7 separate regions of the Homo sapiens genome follow, and regions 1, 2, 3, 4, 5 and 6 are each linked to region 7. The links are contacts of gene promoters, found by promoter capture Hi-C in blood cells and fetal thymus (Javierre and others, 2016). All regions are on one chromosome and are shown on one strand. The core of a region is centred on a gene start or on the middle of the fragment in contact, and the rest is flanking DNA. Distances in the headings are between cores, read along the strand shown. Region 1 has its middle 120 kb from the start of LINC01038. Region 2 has its middle 80 kb from the start of LINC01038. Region 3 has its middle 67 kb from the start of LINC00377. Region 4 has its middle 97 kb from the start of LINC01038. Region 5 has its middle 46 kb from the start of LINC00377. Region 6 has its middle 61 kb from the start of LINC01038. Region 7 holds the start of SPRY2 (sprouty RTK signaling antagonist 2).

Region 1 (2,884 bases), core at 356-2,855, 650 kb after region 7:
AAACTTTTCCTCTAAGATTGGGAACAAGACAAGGATGCCCACTATGTCATTTCTATTTAACATAGTACTGTAAGTCTTCACCAGAGCAATTAGGCAAGAGAAAGAATTAGAAGGCATCCAAATTAGAAAGGAAGAGTTAAATGTCTCTGTTTACAGACAACATGATGATCTTATACAGATGGTCCTTGACTTAGAATAGGGTTATGACCCAAGAAAATATCATAAGTCGAAAATGCATGGCTGAGAGCTGTGTCTCACTGCTTCTGCCCAGCATCATGAGAGAAGTACAGTTTCCACTAAATGTGTATAGCTTTCATACCATCATAAAGTTGAAAAACTAAGTCAAACCATCATATGTCGGGGACTGTCTGTATATACAAAACCCTGACAAATCCCCCCCAAAAAAAAAAAGAAAAAAACACTTTTAGGATTAACAAATTAAGTTAAATTGCAGAACATCAAATCAACATACAAAAGTCAGCAGCATTCTATACACTAACAATGAACTATCCAAAAAATAAATTTAAAAAAAATCCCATTAACAATAGCATTAAAAAATACTTAGGAGTAAATTTAACCAAGGAGTTGAAAAATCTATACGCTGAAAACTAGAAAATATTAATGAAAAATTTGAAGAAAACACAAAATAATGCAAAGATATCCCTTGCTCATGTTTTGGGAGATTCAAATGTCCCAAATCTCCCATCTTAAATTGGTGATGTTAAAATGTCCATACTACCCAAAGCAATCTACAGATTCAGTGCAATCCTCACCAAAATTTCAATGCCATTTTTACAGAAATGAAAAAAAAAAGATTCCAAAATTTGTATGGAGCCACAAAAGACCTCAAATAGCCAAAATGTGGAAGCAACCTAAGTGTCCATCAATAAATGAATGCATAAAGGAAATGTGAATATATATAACAAAGAAATACTAGTCTTTTTTAAAAAAAATGTCATTTGAGAAAACATGAATGAACCTAGAGGATATTATGTTAAGTGAAATTAGCCCGGTACAAAAAGACAAATGCTGTATGATTTCACCCATATGTAAAACCTGGAAGTCAACATCATGGGAGAGTAGAATGGTGGTTACCACAGGCCCAGGGTAGGTGCAGGTTGGGAGCTAATAGGGAAAAGGGGAGACATTGGTCAAAAGATACAAAGTTTCAGTTATACAGGAGGTAGATAATTATATAACATATGCTGTGTATAACACAGAGGGGTGACCATAATTAATAATGTATTGCGTATTTCAAAATAGCTGAAAGATAGATTTTAAATGTTCTCACCACAAAAAGTAATGATAATAAGTAGGGGAGGTAATGGATATGCTAATTAGCTTGGCCTAATCATTCCATAATATATACATATATTGAAACATCACATTGTACCCCATAAATGTATAAAATTATTATTGGTCATTAAAAAAATAAACAAGCTGGAAGCAGTGGTTCATATCTGTAATCCCAGCACTTTGAGAAGCCAAGGTGGGACGATCGCTTGAGGCCAAGATCTCAAGACCAGTCCGGGCAACAAGGTAAGACTCCATTACTCAAAAAGGTAGCCAGGCATGGTGGTGTGCACTTGTGGACCCAGCTACCCAGACGGCTGATGTGAGAGGGTCACTTGAGCCCAGGACTTTGAGGCTTCAGTGAGCCACGATCATAACACTGCACTCCAGCCTGGATGACAAAGTGAGATCTCAACTCTAAAAAAACAAAAAAGAAATAAAAGCACTCTTTAAAACATCAGAATTGAAAAACAATTATTGGAATAGTCTTCTAATTAATTGCCCTATATTCCAGTTCTGGACTATACCCATAATTCATCTTAGACACTGCTTCCAAAAAATGTTCTAAAATTAAAATCTTCACACTAAAAATCCCTCAGTGTCTTCTAAATAACTTCAGAGGAATTCCAAACTCCTTAGCATAGACTATAAGGATGTTTGTGATATTATCACTGTCTGCCTCTCCATCCTCATTTCCCTCCATGCTACCACACACTCTCAGAACTTCTTCCATACACAGATATTTCACAGGTTTTCCAAATATGCAGGTCCTTAAGTAACCACCTACAGCGTGTTTGCCTATTTAGGGTGTCATTAGAAAACAGATTCCTGCTCTCAAAAAATTGTCATGAAACTGTCATGCTTTATCCACTGGTAGCCTATTTCTTACTTCTCTCTCTCCCTACCTTTCATTCATTACCCCAACTTCTTTTCTTTATGCTGAATCTTGGGTTCCTTTTCCATTCATGTTTTAATTTCACACTTATATCTAGAATAGTGACTAATCCTATTTCTCCTAACTGTAGTCTGACTTTACTTGACCTTATCCCTCAATTTTGTATTCCTACTAATGTCTTTCAGCCTCCCCCATACCAATGTCTCCTCTCTCTGGTCTTTTGAAAGACCATCAGACATCTGACATTTCTCCAAGTCTGTCCACAGTGGAAGCCTTGTCCATGTTCCCCACCTTGCTGGGGTTGAGAAGAAGACTTGAGCATTTGCTTCTTTAAACTCCCATTCCAGTGTCCATACTCTTCACTCCATTTGGAATGTCTTCTTTCTATTTTACCTAGAAATGTCTACTCATCTTTAAATCCCAGCTCAAATATTACCACCTCTGCAAGATTTTTCTTGATCCTCAAAGCAGAGTTCTATCTTCTCCATGATCTCATAGCATCTTTTAAATACTCCTATTTATCACTAATGTCATTATATTTTTAACATTTTGTTTGCTGTTTATCTCCTTCTAGAGAGTAAGATCTTTAAGGACAGAAAATATTCTTCCTTATTCTTGTATCTGTGGTTCCTAGCACAATGCAGCTGTGTTTCTTAAATAACTCAACAGATAAAATCATTCTCATAAAAAATATAG
Region 2 (2,700 bases), core at 185-2,684, 620 kb after region 7:
ATTTTAGAAGATTGTGTTCCTTGCAACACATCTTTAATCAATTACAAGCCTACTAGTACTTAACTCATACTCATCTCCAGTTTTACCTGTGAATTTTGATTAGACTTTCTGGGCATTTCAAAGCCCATATAATCAAAGGGGATAACAAATTATGAACATCTAGTCTTATTTACTACTTTCCTGTCACTCCTATAATAATTTTTGGTTTCAGTCTTCAACGTCTAGGATAATTGTTCAATAATTTCCCCCTTCTTTCTAGTACATTTAGAGTTCATTCTGAGTGCACGCTATTCCCTCCCCCCTTTAAGGAATAACAAGAATGTTCATATCTTGTTTTAACAAGTGGATGATCTGCCTCAGCTTCAGAGTCAGAACTTCACACTATTAAAAGGAGAGCTTTATGTTTAACTTTTTGCCCTGTGAGAAAAGCAGGATATGTCAAGCCTCTACTTAAGTTTTTTTCTTTTGTCCTTATGAGTCCTCTCATGAGCTAATTTCTTTCATAGACTATATAAGCCCTTAAAGAGCAGCACTGTTCCCTGACAAACACACTGGCATGCAGTTAATCATTAATTTTGCAAGGTCCACATCTGCTGTCTTCTGGACTCTATATTGTTTGAGAGATTTCCTCCCATTCCTGTAAATGTAATTGTGTGAGGGCTAATGTTGGATCTTTATCTAACCTATTATCAGCAGTCCAGACAGAGTCTTAGAACCTTCCTTTAACAAGTCCAAGTTAGAGTTCACAAAGCTTAAACCTACATGAATAGAGTAGTATTTTTTTAATGGCAAAACAACAGCTGCAGGGGCTGATTCAATGACACGCCCTGGCTGAGTATGTGCAGATACTAAAAACAGGTGCAACTCATGACTGTTGTGCTGTGTGCCTTTTTAAAATATTACATGCATTTCTTCATCAGATCAAGGTTTATATAAAGTATGTTTTAGAGGGGCATAAAGGAATTCAGAAACATGGTCAGCTGAAATACTAAGGCTTTTAAAAAACAATAAAGGTAGAACAAATTAGAGTTATGTTAATGCTGGTAAGCGTACTACCTCATGAAAATCCAAGAATCCAGCCATCTGCATAATAAAAATGCCTTTTAAATGGCAAGCAAATTAAATTATAATATCTTTTTTTTCTTTCTTGGACTTGATCTGGGGTTCCAGCTTCATACCACTTGGGGAAAAGTTGAAATTAGGCTTTGTGTGGGTGGAGGAGAGGCAGAATTGAATGTGATCCTGTGCAAATAATCTCTTCCAGCCTTGCTGTAGGGTGGGACATGAAGACTGGAAAGAGTGAGGCTCCAAACCCCTGGCGTAGAGGCAACACCTTCTGTGGCCATGCTGCCAGGAAGGCTCCAAAGGGAGTGCCCAATAAATGTCAGTGTTGTGTGGCTATTTCAACTTTAAAGTAACTTGCACAAGTTCACTTGAAATTAACACTGCAGTCATACAGAAGGGGGAAAGGAGTGTGTGTTGTTTCCAGACATAATTGAGATTGAACTCTAACCAATTCAGAAACAAGCGTTACTTTCCGCAGCTCTAGAGAAGCCAGCTTCCCTCTGCCAGAAGGGAAGTATTGCAATCGTCATGAACACAAAGCGTTCTGTATGCAGCTTGCAGAGAGAAGCAGCCCTGTCATTCAGGCTGGCCATTCATCTTTGTGTGTCCTTACGGCAGAGGTAGTGTGAAAAGGAGTTTACTCCCCTTAAAACACGAGTGGTGCTTCTGGGGTCTGCAGAGCCTCCCACATCAGCTGTGTTTGAGGCATTCCTGACATGGAAAAGAGCCCAAAGATCACTTTCAACCTGCTACATAATCATCATTAATGCTGGCCCCTTCCCAAGAGCTCTGAGCATTTACCTGCCTCATACAGAGCCCTACTTTTCCCCAGGTTTCATAGTGAGGTCAACAGGGGCCCATTGAGGAAATCAGAAACAACCTCAAGAGACATTATTCAGACCCACCAGAACTCCTGACATGTGAAAGCTCTCCTTGGAGGCCTGCCACTGCCTGAAGAAACAGCCTAGATTTGGAGACTGAGAATACTCAAGTTATGTAAAGGTTGAATAAAAATAACAATTCTGATGCTACTTTTTTATTATAGAAGCTTCACATTTCATCTCTTGCAAGTAAGCTCCTGAGATGGGAGGGAGACTGTATTGCTGACTCACTAGCTTCTGCACCTCTTGGGTTTCTATCTTTAGTGGAGAGCCTGGTCTTTGACATGGAGTTAAGTAAGATATAACAAATGAGTGGAGCAGTCACTGAAATAAGTTTGTTAGGCATAATGGTAACGTTTTGAAACTATGACAATTCTTAATGACATAGTTTTTTGTTAAGTAAAATTTTGGAGTTGCAAGCAATGGAGTGAAGGACTTTGGTTATTTCAATAATAAAAGAACCCTCCTTCCAACTATGTTAGCAAGAGGAAGAACTGAAGGTTTACTAGTAAATGCAATTGTCAAAAACATAATCAGTGCAAACTCAAATGTTCTAAATGTCTTTAGCTAAAATGTGTAAATAACTTATAAAACATAAATACAGATAGAGGCAGGTAACAGCGGAATCATGTTCATTTGTCAGAAGAGCAGCAGTGAGAAGTTGGGTTGGGACTGACACATGAAGCATGAAGGCCTCCTTGGTTTACCTGAGGGAAAGAAGTTGTCAGAAGCAAGTCAACTGTCACAAGGCTGA
Region 3 (2,944 bases), core at 48-2,547, 610 kb before region 7:
ATCCCTATTAATAGTAACATCTTGCAAGTCAGGATATTGACATTTACATAGTCAAGACACAGAACATTTCTATTCACACAAGCTGCCCTTTTACTGTGACACCTACTTCCCTCCTATCTTCACACCATCTTAACCCCTGGCAACTAACAATCTGTCTTGTATATCTGTCATTATTCTCATCTTAAGAATGTTATACAAATGTGACCACGTAGTATGTAACATTTTGGAGCTGACTTTTCTCACTCAATATAATTCTTTATAGATGCACCCAGGTTATCGCATTGTATTGATAATTTGTTTACTTTGATTGATGAGTAATGTTTCATGATATGCGTGTACCAGAGTTTTGGGGGTTATCTTTTAACTATTGATCTGTTGAAGGAAATCTGAATTTTTCCAGTTTTTGGCTATTATAAATAAATCTAATACAAATATTTATGTAATTTTGGGGCATAAATGTTAGTTTTTATTTCTCTGAGATAAATGCCCAAGGAAATGATTATAGGGTAATATGGTAGTTGAATGTTTAGTTTTATAAGAAACAGCCAAACTGTTATACAGAGTGGCTATACTATTTTATATTCCCACCAGCAATCTAGTTTCTTCCCATCCTCACCCACATCTGATGTCATTTTTTTTAAATTTTAGCCATTCTGATAGATATTACTTTTTACTCACTTAAAGCTTAAAGAAACAATTCACACTAAATCATTAATGAAAATTTGGAATTTGAAGTCATAAACATAAAATCTCTAAGAAATATTTTAGACAGAAATAAAAAAATATTGCTGAGTAGTGGTCACATTCAATTTAGGGAAGAAGAAGGAAGGAACCTCAAAAAGAAATGGAGAAATGACACAAAAATCAACAATTTGCCATGGAAGCAAATAAAATAGAAAGTTGCAGAAATTAGTGACTTTTATTAATTTTGTATAATGCAGACTGCTTCTGGCAGTGAAATGTGGTTTTTAATTTGCATTTCTCTACTGGCTAATGATGTTGAGCACCTTTTTACGCACTTACTAGCTATCTGTATGTGCTCTTTGCTTTAACTATGTGTCAGGTCTTTTGCCCATTTTCTACTTGATTTTTCTTTTTTATACTATTGTCTTTTGACATGTCTTTATATATTCTAGTTACTATTCTTTTGTTGGGTATATGGTTTGCAAATATTTTCTCCAAGTCTACAGCTTGTCTTTTTATCCATGTAACAGAGTCTTTGTAGAGCAAAATATTTTAATTTTGATGCACTCAATTTATCAATTTTTTTATTATGGATAATTTTGGGGGTCAAGTCTCAGAACCTTTCCCTCAGCCTAGATGATGATGACTATTTCTGTTCTTTTTTTCTAAAATTGTAATGGTTTTACATTTTACATTTAATGGTCCATTTTGAGATAAATTTAAATAAGATATGAAGTTTAGGTTGAGGTTTATTTTTTTAAAGCAAGAGGTGTACAATGGCTCCAGCATCAATAGCATGATTTTACTACCTACTTGCTCTAGATTATCAATCACATGTCCTATTCATAATATCGGTTCCTCTGTTTACATACCATATTGGCATCTATCTATATGTGTGATAGGTGTTTGAAACTCAAATTTTCAAACTTATATTAATAATTTCCACTCCAAACTCAGTTTTTTCTATATTTCTTATTGAGATTTTTGAGCCAAATATCCTCCAAGCAAATGGAATTACAATGTGGAAGGTAGCCTATGTATTTTTTTCAACTGTCCTGCTACCAATATTTTATGTGACATTTCCTATGGATTCTAATTCCAAAATAGCTCTTGAATCCATCTCTTTCTACTCATTTCTGCTTCCACTTTCATAATACATACATTATCTCAATTTCTGAATAGTCTTTTTTTTTTAAACTAGACTCATGCCAAGATACAAAGCTTCACCCTCCCAATCCAATTCTTTCCTATAAAGAGTAACCAAAGTGAGCTTCTAAGTATGCCTTTTTTTTAACCTTGACCTTTCCTTTCTTTTCAGTTTTATCTCTGGCTCTTTCTTAAACTTAGCTCACATTCTGCACATTTTAAGTTACTTGGTTCCGCTATACACCTTGTGATCTTCTGCAGGTCTGCATGTTTGCAAACATTATTTACTCTCCTTTCTATGTGGAAATCATTCTTTTGGATTCAGTTCAGCTGTATATTTTTTATCTAAATGTTTCTGATTTTCACTCTCCCTACTCTGTAATTAGAGGCATCAGAAAGAATTTACCTTTTTTTCCCTTCACCTTTTCTACCTTTTATACTCAACTGCTATGCCATTTATCACTCTAAATTGGGATTATTTGTATATATTTATTTCTCCAATACTGTGGCTTAAAAAAAAGAGACTGTCTTTTTTACATTTGTGTCCTCTGTCTCACATAGCATGAGGAAAATAGTAAGTGTTAAATAAAAGTTTATTTAATGGTAGGGACTTAATTATTTTTTATTTGTGCTGATACTAGACAGGGGTAGATCTTTCTGAAGCTATCTTTAGTGATCTGACTTGTTACTAACTGATTCCATTCATAATCTTTCCATGTTCATCACAGAGATTAAATATTAAAAATTTTTAAAAATTATTATTCTGAGAATGTGCAATCTGGATTTATAGAGATTTAAGTGCATCAACAAGTATAATGAAGGGGCCATTAAATCTTGTCAAATTTATTCCAACCTCTTTTAGATCAATTTATTCCTCTGATTTCTATCTTTAGCATTTAGTTCAAGCCTATAGCACTTTGTGCAAATTATACTATAGTTCATAGATTGTTCTCTCTACCTGTAGGTTCTCTCTCACTTCAGTTCTATTCTGTATTCAAAAACAAAGGAAATAATTAAGAAACAAGCTACCAAAATTTTGCTCAAAGATCTTTAATAGTTTACATTTCTCCAAAATTTAGTATAAATTCTCAATCTCTTATTCATAATTGCAAAT
Region 4 (2,700 bases), core at 123-2,622, 630 kb after region 7:
ACTGAAATCCCTTTAAATGCATGTTTTGACCCTGAACAGAAGAGCTAAGCCACATCATTAAAGTCATAAGAAAATGAGTGTGAACTAAAAAAACTGAGTATTTGTAGATGCATAGCAAGCCAGTCAGTGCTCTGTCGTGCTTGAGATTGGTCAGGCCAAATAAAACATGGCCTCATGGTTAACAGGAGAGCATGGAATCATGCAGGTCTGGGTATGAGTATTACAAAATGGCCTTGGACCAATTACAGAACTCTCTAAGCATCTGCTTTCTCATGTGCAAAATGGAGACAATAACGTCATTACCTACTCACAATAACAAGTTTATAAGATATTCTTTAAGGACCCTTACTGCAAAGTGATAGCATAATGGAAAGCAGGTCTATGAAATAAGAACATATTTGGGTTCAGGAATTGAGGTCTGTGGTTATAACATATATATTTAATATACCTTATGTGTCAGAAACTTTCTCAGCACTTATCATGCATTATACATTGAATATAAGAAGCTTATAAGGATTATTATTCTCATCCTTATTTTATAGATTAGACAACTCAGGTATGGAAAACTTGAATATTTTGCCCATGATCACATAGGTAAAGAGTAGCAGAGTCCATAGTGTGTAACCCCAGGGCCTATACTTATAAACATGACAGTATATTAATATTATATCTGGATTACCCTCAGGATGACCATGAACCTTTGTGTGAATTGAAATTTTCTTTTAAAAATAATACATAAATGCAACTTCTCTCAGTAAAACTTTTAATAAGTCTTCATGGCAGTCAAATTGAGGTTAAATTATCTGACAAGTACCTAAAATACTGTATTTTATGATTACAAGAGTGAAATATTCAGACCTTCAGACATAATTTGAAGGGATAAATACAATAGCTCCAATCCATTTTTTATCTAATCCAAAACTCATTTTTATTAGTACCATGTGCTGTCTATTATGTGATAACTATTATTGATAAATTAACTGCTAATATAGCCCCTGTTGATCATTCCAGGTCCAGTTGGCTCACTACTTCATGCAGCAAGCTACTTCAAATGATAGGTTGGCTTTAGGGGTTAAAAACATTTTTCTGATAGAAACTTATTTGACTTCCAAGCAATATATTTATATTGGACAAAACTTTCCCCATAGTCATAAACTCTGGAAAAATATAAATATAAAAACATTATTTGAAGGCACTAGGGAATAATCAAAAACAAAACTGGTGAGAGGGGACTGAAAACAAAACAGGGAACTGCACAAGGTAAAATTTACATATATATGGCTTTTCACTTAAGTCCTCTACTGCTCATTTGGCATGGACAGGCTAGAACTCAAGTAGAAAGCCATAATCTTATTAGCTTGAGAAGCTCAAAGACTGAGGTTGCCAGAGGAAGCTCAAAGATTGAGGTGGAAATCTTAGAAAGGAAGGAGCAACAGAAAGGAAATATTAAAATCTACACGTATTCACGGTGAATTCTATTAAACATCTGAAGAAGAAGCAATAGTAATATTACATAAACTCCTTCAGAAAATATAGGAGAAAACATTTCACAACTTGTTTAGGCCAGTCTACAGCCTGATATGAAAACAAGAAAAAAATTACAGACCAATATCCTTCAAGAATATAGATATACATATCTTTAAAAAAAACTGGCAAATAAAATCCAAGGATATTTAAAAGAGATAATGCATCTTGACCAAATGAAGACCATTATAGTAACACGAGTTTAGTTCAACATTCAATATACAATCATTGTTTTTTATAATATCAAAAGACCAGCAAAAGAAAATATGATCTGTGATATATACAGAGAAAGCATTTGATAAAATTGAAAATCCATTCTTGGTAAAAAGCTCTCAGCAAAACTAATAATAAACAGAAACTTTCTCAACATGACAAAGGGATTTTACAGAAAACCTAAAGCTAAAATAATAGTGAATAATAATGAAATATTTAATGTTTAAGATTGGGAAAAAAAGGAAAGAAAGGATATCTACTCTCACCACTTATTTTCAACATTTTATTGGTGGTCCTAGTCAATGTAATAAGGCAAAAAAAATTAAAAAGAAAAACTGTCTCTATTTATTGACTGTAATTTTCTACATAGAAAATTCTAAAATATCTACAAAACATCTACCATAATTAAATTTATCAAGGTCATAGGATATAAGGACAATTATAAAACCAATTGTATTTCTCTATTTTTAAACAATTGAAAAACATAATTTTTAAAGCTTCTCTCTCTCTCTCTCTCTCTCTCTCTATATATATATATATATATATATATACATACACATATATATCAGAGTATTCTTTAAAATACAATACTCAGGAATAAATTTAATAAAAAACTGTGTAAGACCTCTACACTGAAAAACAATATTGCTGAAAGAAAGTAGAGAAGACCTAAATAAATGGAGAGATAAATCATGTTCATAGATTGGAAAACTCAGTACTAGATGTCAATTTTCCCCAAATTAATCTCTACACTTCAAGCTGCTCATATCAAAATTCTGGCAGGCATTGTTAAACAGAAATGTATATAAGCTAACTCAAAATTTAAGTATGAGTACAAAGAACCTAGAATAGCAAAAACGTTTTTCGAAAAGAACAAAGATGAAAGACTCATACGACATGCCTTCAAGACTACTATAAAGCTACAATAATAAATATATGGTGGTTTAACGTGAAGATAGATCA
Region 5 (2,700 bases), core at 41-2,540, 630 kb before region 7:
TCATTGCACTCCAGCCTGGGTGACAAGAGTGAAACTCTGTCTCAAAAAAAAAAAAAAAACTTAAAGATTTAATAAAATGATAGATTATATAACAATAGCCAACTCCAACAGTGCCAGTTTTTATATTACCTAATTGAATCTTCACAATAATCCTATGAAGTAGGAAATAAGGAATATAGGGAAACAAAGGATTAGTAAGCCTAAGTCATTTCCCTGAGTTTACACAGCTGATAAGTTATATAACCTGTAAGTCACATAACTCATTCTTGAGCACAATTAAGCCATGAACAAATATATAATTGAATGAAGATCTATGCTAATCAAAACAAAAAAACTGCCAAATCTCCTCTTTTTTTAACAGGGTACATGTATACATTGATTTTTAAAAATAGATTTAAAATACCCACTACTTTAAAAGAGTATATTTCATGTCCAGAGTGATGGTTTCAAAATGCAGAACCCTAGCCGTCATGTTGTCTCTCTAACTGACAGTTGCCAGGAGTAATAATATAAATTCAACACAGTGAAAGACAAAAATGCGTCATGCCATTAAGGAGATGATTTTACTCAGGTCATTGCAACAGAGAGATTCTTCATTAATGGGGAACATCTCAAGGAAGAGATTGAAAACCTGGGATATTATAAAACAAAGGAATCACAAGCAAGATGGATAGAAATCGTATCTGAGTCACTTAAGAATATTGAAGTATATGTGGGAATACAGTAGTTCTTTGGGATAAGACATTTTGGAACACAAAAGGTGGAAGGGTGGGGGAATTTATCATCTTTGCTGTTTTCCAACGGCAAGGGCTCAGGCAAACTCCAACATGGTCAACACATTAACATAATCTTTCTGAACATTAATTTGTTCTAGATTTGCTTCTATATTTCCTCATATTTTAGCAACTGACCTGAAAAGCAATTGTTCACTGCATATTTTAAAATACTAAAATTTTGCTAAATTAATTTACCAATAGCACAATTTTTTACAAATAGGCTTTTTTTCTATATCACCCCCAAATTATTTAAATGTGTACTATAAGTTGAGCATACCTAATCCAAAAATCTGAAATCCAAAATGCTCTCAAATTTGAAACTTTTGAGCACCAACATGATGCCACAAGTGGAAAATTTTACGCCTGTCATTATGTGATGAGTTGCAGTCAAAATGCAGGTGCATACCACAAAGTTTACTTAGTATCCTGAAGGGGTAAAAATAATCTTTCCAGCCTTCTTCATCTGTGATATATCTTTTCCACACACACCCGGATTCCCCCATGAAGGAGACACACAAAGGGTAATAAAATGCCATGTGTGCAGGGTGAATATGTCAATGGCAGCCTCCACACGATGCCCCACATGGGGCCAAGATCCATGTGCATTACTCACTGCTCTTGCTTATTTTCTGCTGTATGGTGTTGAAAATGACTTTGTTGAAAATGTCCAAAGGGCCTGGATGATGCCCCTGTGGGTAACAGTGATAAGGAAAAGGATGAGTTTATGCTCACAGAAAGTAAAGCTGTTGGAGAAACTGGACAGCAGTGTGCACGTAAAACAACTTACAGAAAATTATGATGTCAGCATAACCACTACATGTGACCTAAGGAAACAGAAGGATAAACTGTCAAAGTTCTAGGATGAAATTGATGAACAGAAGTTAATGAAAAATAGGCCAGGCACAGGGGTTCACGCCTGTAATCCCAGCACTTTGGGAGGCTGAGGCAAGTGGATCACTTGAGATCAGGAGTTCAAAACCAGCCTGGCCAACATGGTGAAACACCATCTCTACAAAAAATACAAAATTAGCTGTGGTGGTGCACGCCTCTAATCCCAGCTACTAGGGAGGCTGAGATACGAAAATCCCTTGAACCCAGGAGGTGGAGGTCGCAGTGAGCTGAGATTGTGCTATTGCACTCCAGCCTGGGCAACAGAGCAAGGCTCTGTCTAAAAAAAAAAGTTAAGGAAAAATAGAAAAAAACTACTACATAAAGCTAAAAAATGAGATCAAGTATTAGAGGAGTACATCCATCAGTGTGGCAGTAAACACATACAACTTAATGGTATGCTGATCATGAAACAAGCAAAGGTCTATCACAATGAACTGAAAATTGAAGGAAACTATAAATACTCAACAGGCTAGTTGCAAACATTTAAGAAAAAAACACGGCATTACATTTTTAGATATTTGTGATAATAAAGCATCTGCTGATCATGAAGCGGCAGAAAAACTCATTGATTTGCCAAAGTAACTGCTGATAAAAATATGACACAAGACCAAGTAAATAACGCTGATGAAACATCACTGTTTTTGTGTTCTTGCCCCAGAAAGACATTTACTACAGCTGATGAGACACCCGCTACAGGAATTAAGACTGCTAAGGATAGAATAACTGTACTGGGATGTGCTAATGCAGCAGGCAAGCATAAGTGTAAATTAGCTGTGATCGGGGAAATCTTGCATCCTTGCTTTTTTCAAGTAGTAAGTTTCCTACCACTTCATTATTATGAGAGATTTTGTTATTCCTTGACAAATTTGTCTGCTCATCCTCTAGCTGAAATACTCATTACAAGTTATACTTCCAAATGTGAATTCATTCATCCAACCATGTAACCAAGATATCTATAATCAATAACAAGTAAATATAAAAACCCCTTCTTGAGCAGCATGCTAGCAGTAATGAACAAAGGCAAGGGTGCAGA
Region 6 (2,700 bases), core at 4-2,503, 600 kb after region 7:
TTAAAAGCAGAAAAGAAAATCTAGTGCTCAGAACAGCATTCTTTAACTTAGTCTAGCTATAAATTTTGTCTCTTGTTGATTTCCTGACTTGGAAAGAACCCATTAATGAAAGGAAAACACACACACACACACACACACACACACACACACACACACACAGAGGCTGGAAGCTCAACTGTGACTTTTTAAAATGGTAAACCTAGTACCATTCATACCTGTAAGATGTGAAAGGAAGATTTGAAAAAACCTCATTTTGTCATTTTACCAAAGGCCTTGAGCAACCTATTCAAAAGATACAAAAATAAATTTAAAATCTGGGTGGAGGCTGCAGAAGTGCTTCCCTTGCCTTTTTCTCCCGCTTGCTTTACCAGTGGAGCCTGAAGCTTCTCAGTTCATTGTCACGTTTACCTCCATCCTTTCTCTGCCAAGAATCTGATGGTTGAGTTTTCAGTTAGTTTGGGAGTAAGGTAGATCCTTGTTGTAACTTGCTGAGACTCATCCAACTAGATTTCTGGGAGGGAAATTGATTCCTTTTCCTCGCTGAGGGGTATAACAACAGGCCAACAATGTCTACGCTCCATGTAGATAGACACTCACTAGACCATGGATTGACCTCCTTATCAATCAATGTACAAATTAGTTGGAGGTGAAAAATGTAAGCAGAGGTCTGCAAGGAATAAGGTCTTCGTAGGCTGGTCCTTTCTGCAGATTCCTGGGAGGGCTTCTGATGTTTCCAAGCTGCTGCTTATCTGAGGCTCTTGACTTCCACAGTCCTGAAGGGCAGACCCAAGAAGAGGGGGCTTTCCCTAAGTGTTCCACAGACCCTCAGAAACTTCTAGCCGAAGCTCACATTCAAAGTCCTTAGACTAGTCTTCAGAGGTACCTGTGCAGAGTCTCTTAGGAACATAAATCTGAATAGCATCATAATTGATGGTCTCCTAGCCCTTCTTTCAGCACCCTAGACTTAGGCAGGAGGGACATTGCGCTACTAACTCTTCCTTGGCTGAAGATGAGTAGCCACAGTCCCCAAAAGAGTTATTTCCATGGCTTCTTGGTGATAAAGTGAGGGGAAGAATGAGCCCAGGATAACCCTCATATGTCAATTGGAGCTCCATGTTCTGTGTAAATGTCCTCTTTCTGGCATGTTTGTCCCTGACTGAGTGCCAATTTCCACTCTCTCACTCCTTTCAACCTCACTGTCTTCAATGCAACACCTTCCCACTCCTGAAGACTCATGTTTGATTTTGTCGCTAGTACTAGTTTACTATTATTAACCTTTTTATTTCATCTGCAGTGGCAAAATATAATTGTCATAACTTAACATGACCCATACAAATACACGATGAACATGTTCAAAGTGTATTCAACTCATTTATTAATGAGGGAACCAGTAGATATAAAGTTATTTCAAACAAAACATTTTGAGAAACTATTTATAGGCAATTTTAAAAATAATAATATTAGAGTAAGATTATTGTCCGTTTAAACACAAAACAACTTAGTGTCCTACCAGGCAATAAACTGTTGCTTATCTTTTTTACCACACAGAAACTATTCACATCTCTATTGAACAAAAACTACTAGTAAAGACATAACTCCACAGTGTATGTGCACTAATCAACAGTAAATGGCAAAGTCAAACAGTGGTACATCAGCCTACAAAATCAAATAATTTAAAGGTGTGCCTAAAATATACACTAAAAGATAATGCAGCTATCCTCTGGACCTTATTTATAGGTTTTAGATAATTTTTCTTTATAGCAGGAATGCAAGTCTAATACTATGCTGTTATTCCAATCTAGTTTATAAATTTCTGACAATATTTAAGAAGTCTCATTAGAATGCATTTGTCATTAGTTGAGGTATCAGTGCATCATATGTACTTGTTAGCAGAAAAGAAGAAGGAAAAATGTTTATCTGAAAGTATTTGCTAAAAGGCTCATCCATCATGCCAGGCACTAGGACTCATTAGCCGGAGCCCTCAGGGAAGATCATTAAGACAGAAAAGCTGAGTAATCAGGAACCATTGCTGATACGATCATGGCAAGGTAGAGATTGGGAAACTGATTTAAAAATTGAGATCAAGGAGCATGCAGAGTGGAAAGCCAGAAAGCAAAGCTTGAGGCTAGAGCAAGTCAGATGTCAATAGCCAAGATCTTAATGAGCTACAGGCCTCATAGGTCAGGACAGATGAGGTAGGCAGATGGACAGGGTCAGAGCACTCAGATAGCCTACATCAGGGGCACGCTTCCCAGAAAGCTTTGGCCTCAGATTACACTTGACACTCCCTATCTACCCACACTAGAAAGGTTGCCTAACCCTGGGGCAGAGGGCTCCATCCCAGGGTCAAATATTGCCCAGCTATGTGGGCTCTTCCACTGCTTCCATTGTTTAAAAACTAGAGATACCTTTCAACAGCAAAAAAAGTGTATCTATATATAAGAATATTTCTATATTCAAGGGGCTAAATGCCTCCAGATATTGATTTCTGATTTCTGAATCATTCCTAAGTTGTTATATCTTTGCCATTTAATGGCAAGATGTGTATTATTGATGTATCTCCCTGATATCAGGGAAAGTGTAATTCATATTATTGCATGAACAAGAATCCTAAATCTCTTTTGCCTGTAGTAAGTGAAGGTGATATGAAAATTAATCAGGGTAGGAAGGTATTATGAGGAGCAGAGATCTTTTGGAGTT
Region 7 (2,700 bases), core at 162-2,661:
CCTGTAAAGTAAAAGCATTCTGTAAGTCGCTCGACAGAATGCAATATTAGGCGTGTGTATGCGCAAGTTTTAATTTTCCACTGGTGCTCCCACGTGAAGGCACATTTCTTAGTAAATGAACGGCAGCTAGGACAGTGCATATGTATGCATTTTCTATCTTTATTTTTTTTTTGTAAATGGGAAAGAATAGTGCACCTTCAACATGGACAACAGAATCTTGAGAAATGTTCTAGGTGGCAAGAAAAGTGGGAAATGAAGGATGACTTTTAGTTAAGGGAAGAAGGAAATCTGCAGTGAGCCAACCCTTCCCTCCCCCCCGCCCCCCCATTTCGGAAGCCCATGCTGTCGCCCTGAGTAATCTTGTTCCTGTCTATTAATGAATTAAGTTAAAAGGCTTAGACTGTAGACTTTAGCTACTGCATGAAGCAAAATAGTAAGGAAGCTCTTCAAAAAGCCTCCATTCATAGATAACCCCCCTTAAAAATGAAATTCTAATAAACGGAAAAACTACAAGTCGACACAATCAAAAGCAAATCCCAGCAAGAGCAGAAGGTACTTGAAACTCGAATCTGCATTCCGTTCCTCCCGTACAAGGCTCGGAGGTGGGGGAGGCGGTTTGTGCTGGTGCCTGGTGTATAATCGGGTTAATCCAGTAGACAAAGAATAAACCAATAGCCCTCCCACCTCACTTCCCGCTCCCCTTCCCCTCCCCCTTCTTCTCCCCCCGCCCCAGCCCCCGTCACCCGCTCCGCAAAGGGGAACAGAAAAGGGGAGAGGTAGACTTGAAATGGATTCTGGATAAAGTCTTAAAACCTGCAACTTGTTTTTCATGCTAACACTGCGTGGCCCAGATTAGTCTTAAATGTTCATTCCCCTTTCCTGGTGGCAAGGAGAAAGTTCCCTAAGTCAGCTCGAGCCTCTGGCTCGTCCTCATTGCCTCTGGGCAAACCTTAAGGTCAGTGTTTCCTTGAAACTAGATAAACTGACCCTGCAGTGCCCAGCCCGGCCCCGCGGGCGCCCCGCGTGACGGCGCTCGGGCGGCAGGACCGGCCTGGGGACGCGCGGGGCGGCGCGGTTGCCCTTTTGAATGCCTCCTGCGGCTCGGAGCGCTGGCGGGCGCTGGAGTGTGAGTGAATGTAGCCCCGCGGAGCCAATGAGCTGGGACCGGATGCGATATATCCTCTGGGACAACAACTGCTCTGTTCCGCCTCGGATCCACATGACGCCATTTACTGCTGCCGCGGCCGCCGCAGAGCTCCCTGCCTCCTCCGGAAAGGCGAGGGCGCAGGCCAACGGCGAGCCCCCCCCGGGCGGGCCCCAGACCCTCCTCCTCCTCCTCCTCCTCCTCTTCCTCCTCCTCCGCACCCACCGCCCCCGCCTCGGCCTCGCTGCCTCGCCTCCACAACGCCCAGTCTGCACCGCCGAGAGCTGCGCGCCGCAGCGCTAGCGGAGGAGAGGGGCCGGCGGAGCGCGCAGCGCCCAGGCCCCCGCGCCCGCCCGGCCCGGCCCGGCCCGCGCCCCCGCGCCGCCTCCGCTACGACGCGGCCCCGGCCGCACCACTTGGCGATCTGGCTTTAGGTTCTCCGTAAGGCCGTTTTCTTTTCCCATTCGCTCATCTGCCAGGAAAAGGGACTTGCCGTTGGCGCTTCGGCCTCTTGTTCATTGAGAAAAAAGAGGAAATACTCCGCGTGCGCTTGTAGAAGGGGAGTCGTCTCCAGCTCCGAACCCCGGAGTGTTCATCAGCGGGGAATCTGGCTCCGAATTCTCTTTTTTTCTCCCGCCGATTGCTCGGAAGTTGGTCTAAAGCAGAGGTTGGAAAGAAAGGAAAAAAGTTTGCATCGAGACTGGATTTATTTGCACATCGCAGAAAGAAGAGAATCCAAGGGAGAGGGGTTGGTGCAAAGCCGCGATCACGGTGAGGCACGTTTGGCTCTTCCCCTCCTGGCGCCGCGGCCGGCGCGTTGTGGGCAACATGGAGTAGGTGCAGCCGGACCAGGAGTTGGGTCCGTCTCTCCCCGAGCCTCCCTTTCTCAAATCCCGCAGGGTCTTCGCGAGGATCCGGGGCGCTCCCCGCGGACCTGCCTCGCCCGGGGCTTGGGCTCGGCCTGCCTCTGCGGGGACTTCTGTATGCACCCCGTGCAGTGTCCCCGACAGGCGACCCCGCGCGCCCGCGCTCTAGGGGGTTGGGACGGAGGACAGCTAGCCTGAAGTCTGCTCCCAGCCGTGCACTGGCCGCGAATTCGGCGCTGAGAGCGGGAGAGGGAGAGAAAAACACTTTGTATTTTCCAGGTTGCCTTTGCAGGCGCCCGCATTTCTAACCTGTTCTTCCTCTTGGTGGAAGGCAAAGTCCAGGGAGAGGCTGTCCCTAGGCGGGGCGCTGGTGGGGCTGGGGGACACAGGTTGCCCGCCTCGGGGGCAGGAGACTTCCAGGGTGAGAAAAAGGCAGGGTGCCGGGTGGAGGGAGTGCCCGCCTCTGCTCCGTGTGGACAGTCTAGCCCGGAGCGGGTGGGAGCGTCGCCCTGCCTGGCGCCGGGTCTCTGCGGTTCGGAAGTGCAGCTCTCTCTCTTCCGTTCTTCGTGGTCAGCCTGGGTCACACTTATTTTATTTTTGGAAGCTCGGGCTGACCCAGCGCAGGAAGAAAGTCATCAAGCGGTCGCGATCATTTTCCATTACCTGAAAGTAGGTGGCAAAATAGGCAAT

Evidence for each region. Contacts are between HindIII fragments. The CHiCAGO score rates a contact against its expected background, and 5 or more counts as called.
Region 1: a contact is called between a fragment that was not itself captured here and the fragment with the promoter of SPRY2 in region 7, in 5 of 17 cell types (M0 macrophages, M2 macrophages, neutrophils and 2 more). The highest score is 11.5, in M0 macrophages.
Region 2: a contact is called between a fragment that was not itself captured here and the fragment with the promoter of SPRY2 in region 7, in 3 of 17 cell types (endothelial precursors, M0 macrophages and monocytes). The highest score is 7.1, in endothelial precursors.
Region 3: a contact is called between a fragment that was not itself captured here and the fragment with the promoter of SPRY2 in region 7, in 3 of 17 cell types (endothelial precursors, megakaryocytes and erythroblasts). The highest score is 9.6, in endothelial precursors.
Region 4: a contact is called between a fragment that was not itself captured here and the fragment with the promoter of SPRY2 in region 7, in 1 of 17 cell types (M0 macrophages). The highest score is 5.6, in M0 macrophages.
Region 5: a contact is called between a fragment that was not itself captured here and the fragment with the promoter of SPRY2 in region 7, in 2 of 17 cell types (endothelial precursors and M0 macrophages). The highest score is 7.3, in endothelial precursors.
Region 6: a contact is called between a fragment that was not itself captured here and the fragment with the promoter of SPRY2 in region 7, in 3 of 17 cell types (M1 macrophages, monocytes and M0 macrophages). The highest score is 7.2, in M1 macrophages.

What each region holds. Positions count from the first base shown.
Region 1 is chr13:79,687,654-79,690,537 of GRCh38, reverse strand. No RefSeq gene overlaps it. Among named protein-coding and RNA genes, the nearest start is that of LINC01038, 120 kb to the left of the region's middle. The HindIII fragment of the contact is 9,076 bases long and covers 1-2,884 here.
Region 2 is chr13:79,722,543-79,725,242 of GRCh38, reverse strand. No RefSeq gene overlaps it. Among named protein-coding and RNA genes, the nearest start is that of LINC01038, 80 kb to the left of the region's middle. The HindIII fragment of the contact is 1,362 bases long and covers 754-2,115 here.
Region 3 is chr13:80,949,528-80,952,471 of GRCh38, reverse strand. No RefSeq gene overlaps it. Among named protein-coding and RNA genes, the nearest start is that of LINC00377, 67 kb to the left of the region's middle. The HindIII fragment of the contact is 1,221 bases long and covers 687-1,907 here.
Region 4 is chr13:79,705,619-79,708,318 of GRCh38, reverse strand. No RefSeq gene overlaps it. Among named protein-coding and RNA genes, the nearest start is that of LINC01038, 97 kb to the left of the region's middle. The HindIII fragment of the contact is 1,728 bases long and covers 509-2,236 here.
Region 5 is chr13:80,970,781-80,973,480 of GRCh38, reverse strand. No RefSeq gene overlaps it. Among named protein-coding and RNA genes, the nearest start is that of LINC00377, 46 kb to the left of the region's middle. The HindIII fragment of the contact is 3,063 bases long and covers 1-2,700 here.
Region 6 is chr13:79,742,492-79,745,191 of GRCh38, reverse strand. No RefSeq gene overlaps it. Among named protein-coding and RNA genes, the nearest start is that of LINC01038, 61 kb to the left of the region's middle. The HindIII fragment of the contact is 1,735 bases long and covers 386-2,120 here.
Region 7 is chr13:80,339,837-80,342,536 of GRCh38, reverse strand. SPRY2 (sprouty RTK signaling antagonist 2) reads left to right here and starts at 1,411. Exons shown (of 2, transcript NM_005842.4): 1 at 1,411-1,915. RefSeq lists silencers at 994-1,043, 1,274-1,463. The HindIII fragment of the contact is 9,098 bases long and covers 1-2,700 here.